Regions from separate parts of the Homo sapiens genome. Here region 1 is linked to region 2. Evidence: promoter capture Hi-C in 16 types of primary human blood cells and fetal thymus (Javierre and others, 2016). All regions are on one chromosome and are shown on one strand. Each heading gives the region's core, a stretch centred on a gene start or on the middle of the fragment in contact. The rest is flanking DNA. Distances are from core to core; before and after follow the strand shown.

The links. The method cuts DNA at HindIII sites, captures the fragments that hold promoters and counts their contacts. A CHiCAGO score of 5 or more calls a contact.
Region 1: a contact is called between a fragment that was not itself captured here and the fragment with the promoter of LIMD2 in region 2, in 7 of 17 cell types (naive CD8 T cells, naive CD4 T cells, total B cells and 4 more). The highest score is 7.7, in naive CD8 T cells.

The regions. Positions count from the first base shown.
Region 1 is chr17:63,811,216-63,814,398 of GRCh38, forward strand. It overlaps DDX42 (DEAD-box helicase 42), which reads left to right. Exons shown (of 18, transcript NM_203499.3): 14 at 717-993; 15 at 2,013-2,239. Among named protein-coding and RNA genes, the nearest start is that of PSMC5, 15 kb to the right of the region's middle. The HindIII fragment of the contact is 4,274 bases long and covers 1-3,183 here.
Region 2 is chr17:63,698,827-63,702,342 of GRCh38, forward strand. It overlaps LIMD2 (LIM domain containing 2), which reads right to left and starts at 1,299. Exons shown (of 5, transcript NM_030576.4): 1 at 1,206-1,299; 2 at 431-522; 3 at 202-243; 4 at 1-112. The coding sequence starts at 472. LOC729683 (a long non-coding RNA gene) reads left to right here and starts at 1,512. Exons shown (of 1, transcript NR_046273.1): 1 at 1,512-3,516. RefSeq lists silencers at 178-407, 498-957, 1,048-2,007, 3,198-3,277 and enhancers at 1,712-2,297, 2,298-2,882, 2,678-2,777. The HindIII fragment of the contact is 14,945 bases long and covers 1-2,660 here.

The DNA of each region.
Region 1 (3,183 bases), core at 684-3,183, 110 kb after region 2:
TCTCATATTATGGAACACAGAATTAATTTCTCACTATTGAGATAAAAAAAAAAGATGTTATGTTTATAGATGCAACATGCTTGAGATTGGGTATTTTGCAAGTTGTGGGGATAGACGTAACAAGACTGGCAAAATGTTGGGAATCATTGAAGCTAGGTGATGGGTATGAGTTGATTTTGTTCATTTTGTGTTTTTTTTGTTTTATTGAATGTCTCAAAACTTACAATTGTTTTAAAAAGGCTTCAAAGAGACAAAAAGATGTGCCTGGAAGCATCAGCGTATTAGGTTGGAACTGACGTTTTAATTATTGTGGTAGGGGCCTACGCAGGAGGGAAAGGGTGACCTGGAAGGCCTGGAAAAAATCAGGTTTCATTTCTTACCTGTACATATGCGCTATGTGAAAAATTACTCTGAATTGGGACTTGGAATTCAGTTATGGCTGCTTAGAGAATCCTTCAGTTGCTTGCCATGGTTATTGTTAAGGAAAGCTCTACAAAGTAGTGGGGCATACAAATTAGGTATGTACACCAGGTGGAGAGCAAGGTGATTGGAAAGGAGAGGTGAGTTTTGAGCTGCACTTGACTTGCTGAAGGCCCAAGGAGAACTGGGATTGTTCAAGGTCTTCTCGATGCAGGTAGAAATATAATGCCTAGTCCTTGTTCAGGTGCCCTGTGGCTCCAATGTCACAATCATCTGTTTCATTTCTTCCTTCTCAGGCAAATGAAGATGTGACACAGATTGTGGAGATTCTCCATTCTGGACCTAGTAAATGGAACTGGCTTACCCGGCGTCTGGTAGAATTTACCTCTTCAGGGAGTGTCCTCCTCTTTGTTACTAAAAAAGCCAATGCTGAAGAGCTAGCGAATAACCTTAAACAGGAGGGTCATAATCTTGGGCTGCTCCATGGGGATATGGATCAGAGTGAGAGAAACAAGGTCATTTCAGACTTTAAGAAAAAGGACATCCCAGTCCTGGTGGCCACAGATGTTGCAGGTAGAGTATGAATTTTTCAACAACATTAAGTTCCTAGGCTATAAGGGTACTCTGTCTTACTACATAAGACCTATAATATCTGAGCAGGCTGATGGAAAGACTGTTGGCCTGGCTGGCCATCCCCTCCCAAACCCCCAAGGAAGCAGCAGTTCAGCACAGGGATCACAGTCTGGAGCTCTAGATACCACTTTTCACTTAGTATTTCTCTCTAATCAAAGAATCCCTGCAGCTAGAAGTCACTCTGGGAAAAAAGGCAGTGAATGCCCTTATTGTATGTCTGAATATAGTAGATACCTTACCCTTACATTGATCTACTATACACAGCTTAGTTGGGCAACTTAACTCAGGATGAGAACAGTTTTTGGAATATAATTTCTGGATTTGTTCTGTCAAGTTTTAATAACTACCCTTAAACACTGATATTTTTTCCTAGAAAGGAGAGAACTTCTCAGCTTCATGACACATTTTAAATATATATTCCCAGTGCAAGAGAAGAGGGCATGGCAGATTACTGATGCAAAAGATAAAAGTCCCAGTCGGGCACGGTGGCTCACACCTGTAATCCCAGCATTTTGGGAGGTGGAGGCGGGCGGATCACCTGAGGTCAGGAGATCGAGACCATCCTGGCCAACATAGTGAAACCCCGTCTCTACTAAAAATACAAAAATTAGCTGGGTGTGGTGGCGCGTGCCTATAATCCCAGCTACTTGGAAAGCTGAGGCAGGAGAATTGCTTGAACCAGGGAGTCGGAGGTTGCAGTGAGCCGAGATCATGGCACTGCACTCCCGTCTGGCAACAGAGCAAGACTCCGTCTCTAAAAAATAAAAGTCCCTTACACTAGAAGGCCTAACATCATAGAATCTGTGGTGGTGACTTAACATGCCTGTATCTCAGCTCACCAAACCCATGCGCTTTGCCTAGATAAAGGAAATGTGGCTTATTAGCACTAGCATTTCTGGTTACTTTGATCTTCTGACTACAGATGAAGAATAAAAGAATTTGGTTGCTTTTTATTTCAGCCCGTGGTCTGGACATTCCTTCAATTAAGACTGTCATTAACTATGATGTGGCACGAGACATTGATACCCACACGCATAGGATTGGCCGCACAGGAAGAGCGGGTGAGAAAGGTGTGGCCTATACCCTACTCACTCCCAAGGACAGCAATTTTGCTGGTGACCTGGTCCGGAACTTGGAAGGAGCCAATCAACACGTTTCTAAGGAACTCCTAGATCTGGCAATGCAGGTGAGGGGCTGGGCACACTTTCAATTGCTCCTGGTTATAAGACCAAGACATTTTAGCAGTCCTGGAACAGATAACATAAAAACTTGACAAGAAAGTTGGGTGGCTAGGAGGATGTGGGGCTTATGAGGTACAGATAGGAATTGTGAGATACTAAAATTCATCTAGTCTTATCTGGTCTTCTTCTTTCAACAGCATCTGTTTTGAAAAGCTATTCCTTTGTGCTAAAATCTGTCGCTGTAATTTCTACCCCATAGCACACTTAGGAGTAAATTTAATCTCAAAGATGGTTACTATTCTCCTTACTGCTCTTCCCCCACAAAATTTTTCTTCTGGGAGGCTAAAAATGTGTGATGCCTTTAAAACAATATGTGTATAGTATAGTGCCCCCCCACCTTTTTTTTTTGAGACAGAATCTCACTCTATCGCCCAGGCTGCAGTGCAATGGCACGATCTCGGCTCACTGCAACCTCTGCCTCCTGGGTTCAAGCAATTCTCCTGCCTTAGCCTCCCAAGCAGTTGTGATTACAGGCGCCCACCACCACGCCTGGCCAATTTTTGTAATTTTAGTAGAGATGGGGTTTTGCCATGTTGGTCGGGCTGGTCTCGAACTCCTGACCTCAGGTGATCCGCCCGCCTCGGCCTCAACCTCCCAAAGTGCTAGGATTACAGGCGTGAGCCACCGTGCCCAGCCTGTATGGTGCCTCTTAACTGTTCCTTGCAGAGATCTCAGACCTCTGACCACACTGATTGCCCTCTTCCAGGTGTGCTCCAATCTAAAGCTAAGTGAGGCATTCTAACAAATCAAACCTGGAGTCATCTGAATCCATGCTGTCCCCAAATTACAAATGGGTTCGGAACACTTTCTGAGAGCAGAAACTGTTAAGAGTTTGTCAAATGCCTAGGCCAGCTCACACAACTGGTACAACCCAGCTGCAATGTGGCAG
Region 2 (3,516 bases), core at 49-2,548:
AGAAGCAAGAGTTGTGGAAAATGAGCTTGTCGGCCACCAGCCGCTCCATGGGGTACACGGTCTTCTGGCAGGCGGCGCAGGTCTCCTTCACCTGGGCCCGCAGGCTGAAGGACTGTGCGGGAAGCTCAGCCAGGTGCTGCCCCAGTGCTCATCCCGCTCCCTCACACCCCTCCTCCCGCACACCCGGCCCCAGGCCCCTACCTTGGAGCGCTGCACCGTGCTGCTGCCGCCGCCTTTGGCGTCCTGAGGGAGAGGGGCGGTCAGGGCAGGGGCAGCTCCGGGAGGCCCTGGATCAGGGCTGCAGCCATCAGCCCAAGGCCCAGGGGCGCGCCGCAGGGCACAAAGGGGGCCGGCAAACTCTGATGCCTCTCCCCTTCACCCCAGGCCAGGCTCCTGTCCGGGGGGCCCTCCCACCCAGCCGGGCACTTACATGAGAGGGGGTGGCCTGGGCGGCTCCTGCAGCCTGGAACATGGCTCGTTGGAGGTGGAAGCCTCGGGTGGAGAAGCGGCACCCGCTGGGTTCTGCAAGGGGAAGTCAGTCGGGAGGGCCCCGCCAGCCCGGCCCCAGCCTGCAGGGTGGGGGGTGTTGACAGGCAGGGGCTGGGGGGATTGCGGTTGGGACTTTCCCTAAGTCATTTCCTGTTGCTCTTGGTCTTGCCACTTCCGCCCCTCACCCACCTCCCCCACCCCTGCTCCCCAGGGGCCGGGGTCCCGAGTGGCACCGTCCCTCGGAAGAACAAAGTTAGCGGGAGCGGAGGGGCCGGGGGCTCCCGCGCAGCCGCCGTGTGCGTCCCGCGGGCTGGGACCGCTTGGGGTGAGGGGAGGTCGGGGCCGGCGGGGCCGCGATGAGAAGCCGCTGCCCCGACCTGACCCCGGCCCTCGCTGCCCTGCGCCGCGCCCGGGCGTCCAGGCCTAGGCTGCGCAGCCCCTGGACAGCGCCCGAGGTCCCCGCCCGCCCCGCCCCTCGGCCCCCGACCTGGCCCCGCGAGGACCGGACCCCAGACCCCGACGCCGCGAGCCCCGCCAGCGGGTCTCGGCTCCGCCCAGCCGGGGGCCGGCCCTGAAACGAGGACTCGAGCCTGTGCGCCCCGGGCGAGAGCGGCTCGCAGACTCGCCGGGACCCCACGGGCGGCCCTCACCCCACACCCCTCGGCGCCTCTCCCGGTTCCGGAGCCGGACGCGGCCCCTCCCCCCGCGGCTCTCACCAGGCCCGGCCTGGGCCGCGGGGCGGGATCGGTCTCCGGGGGCGCACGGGTACGAGGAGGGCGCGGGCGCGAGCTGCTGCCGCTACCAGTGGTCCCCGAGCCACCGCCGCCGCCACCGCCTTATCGCTGCACCGCCCCCGCCGGCCCCCGCCCCGCGCCCGCCCATTGGCTCCGCCGCGCCCGGAGCCGCCTTCGGGGCCCCGGCGCCGCCGCCGACCCCCCTCCGCGCTTTGTCTTCCCCTCGCCGCCGTCCCCGCCTTTGTCTGTCCCCCGCCCCGGCTCCGCGCTCCCGGCTCCGCAGCGCCCCGCGGGCCTCGCGCTCGCAGGCCTCGGGTACCGGCCGCGCCGTCTGCCCATCCCGACGGCGGCCCGGCGTGGGGAAGCAACGGTGGCAGGGACAGGATGGAAGGGCCGCGCTCCGCATCCTACTGGGAGGGGACGAGTTCAGGCTGCGGCGGCTGCGGTCGCGGGACACTGGGCGCTCCCGGCCTGGCTCCGGGATAACCGGGCGGGGCCTGGGCCATTCACTGCCTCGGTTTCCCCCGGTTGGCCTCGCGCGTAGGCGCCGGCGCCCCCATCCCCGCCCAGAGCTGTGGGGCCGCAGAGACCCAGCCGGGGCGACCCCGGAGCCTGGCCCGGGGTCCCTCGGGCGGCCGAGTCCTCCCGCCGCCAGGGGCCGCCCCCGCCCCTTTGCGGCCCACGAGGCTGGCGGCGGCGTCCGGGCACGCGGTCTCCAGGCCCGGCCGCGAGGCTGCGGGGAGGAGCCTGCACGAGGGCCCGGCAGCCCCGGCAGCCCCCCCAGCCCTCGGCGCCTCTGCAACCCTGCGACGGGCTGGGGAGGCCGGTATGCGTGGTTCCCGGAGCACCCGTCCCCCGAGGCTCCACGTACTCAAGCGTTTCTGGGGCGGAATTCTGTGGGCAGCAACGGGGGCCCCCTCTCCAACAAGCGCACCTCATTTCTCACGTGGGAGCCGCGGCCCAGAGAGCTGAGGTGACAGAGCTTGGGCCGCAGAGCTGCTCCCTCCCTGCAGCCGCACAGCAGGCCGGAGGCACAGCCGGCGAGAGACGGCCACTCGCTTTGGAGCGGCGGCGAGGCCGGCGCCTTCCCGGGCACCAGGGACTGCGTGGCTTGGCCGGAAATCAGGCTAGAAGCAGCTCCGGGAAGCACAGCCCTTAGCCCAGCGCCTTCCCACACTGTGGCAGGAATAGCACTGGCGGCCCACGCGCTTGTCAGGGAACAGAACAGCTCTCGCCCGACGCCTGGCAGGGGAGCAGGGAGGCTGCAGCTTCCCCAGCGACCAGCTGTTTCCCAGGCTGGCGGACTCCACGGACCGGCTCCGCGTCTCCTCTCCAGCCTTCTGTTCTCTCTAGAGGAAGATCTGCGTTTTGTCTGCACTGTGGGCCGACTCTCTAGTGGGGAGCGTCAGACCCTCTAAAGTGGCTGCCTCTCGGGAAAGCTTCCACACCTGTCATCAGATTCTCCAAAGGGGCTGTTTGATGCAAGAAACGGGAAGCCCCGGGGGTACTAGGAGCAGGGCTTGCTGCCATTGGGCATGGTGAGGCCCCGGCACCCTGCCCAGGACGGGCCTGTGGGCTGAGCTGCAGATGGGCATTGAGGATGCCCCAACAGCAAGGTGCAGAAGGCATCCAGAAGCAAAGGAAACTGATGACCAGCGTCAAAAACAAACAAAAAAAGGGAACTTGGCTCGGCGGTGGCTCACGCCTGTAGTCCCAGCACTTTGGGAGGCAGAGACAGGTGGATCACGAGGTCAGAAGTCCAAGACCAGCCTGGCCAACATGGTGAAATCCCGTCTCTACTAAAAATACAAAAATTATCCAGGCGTGGTGGTGTGTGCCTGTAATCCTAGCTACTCGGGAGGCTGAGGCAGAAGAATCGCTTGAACCCGGGAGGTGGAGCCTACAGTGAGTCAACATGAAGCCAGTGCACGCCAGCCTGGGCGACAGACTCTGTGTTTGTGTGTGTGTGGGGGGGGGAGGGCGGGGCGAGGCGAAGGGAACTTGAGGTTTAAAGCAGGGGGAGGAGGGCCGGAAATGCTCCCCGCCGCCCCCGACACTCACTCGCCCCAGGCCCCATCCTAGCCCAGGGTCAGTGTCATTCCCTTCACCTTAGCCTCTCACTGCCCAAAGAGGCTTACTTTTCTTCTTTAAACTGCTGTTAAAATTTGGGAGGAAACGGAAAGCAAGGGCACCTGATGGTTCAGTGCAGCTTCAGGTTAGAGGGGCATTTGAGGTGCCTGAGCTGGGGGAGGGCCTTCCCCCTGAGGGACTGGGAGAAGGGTAAGCCATGTGC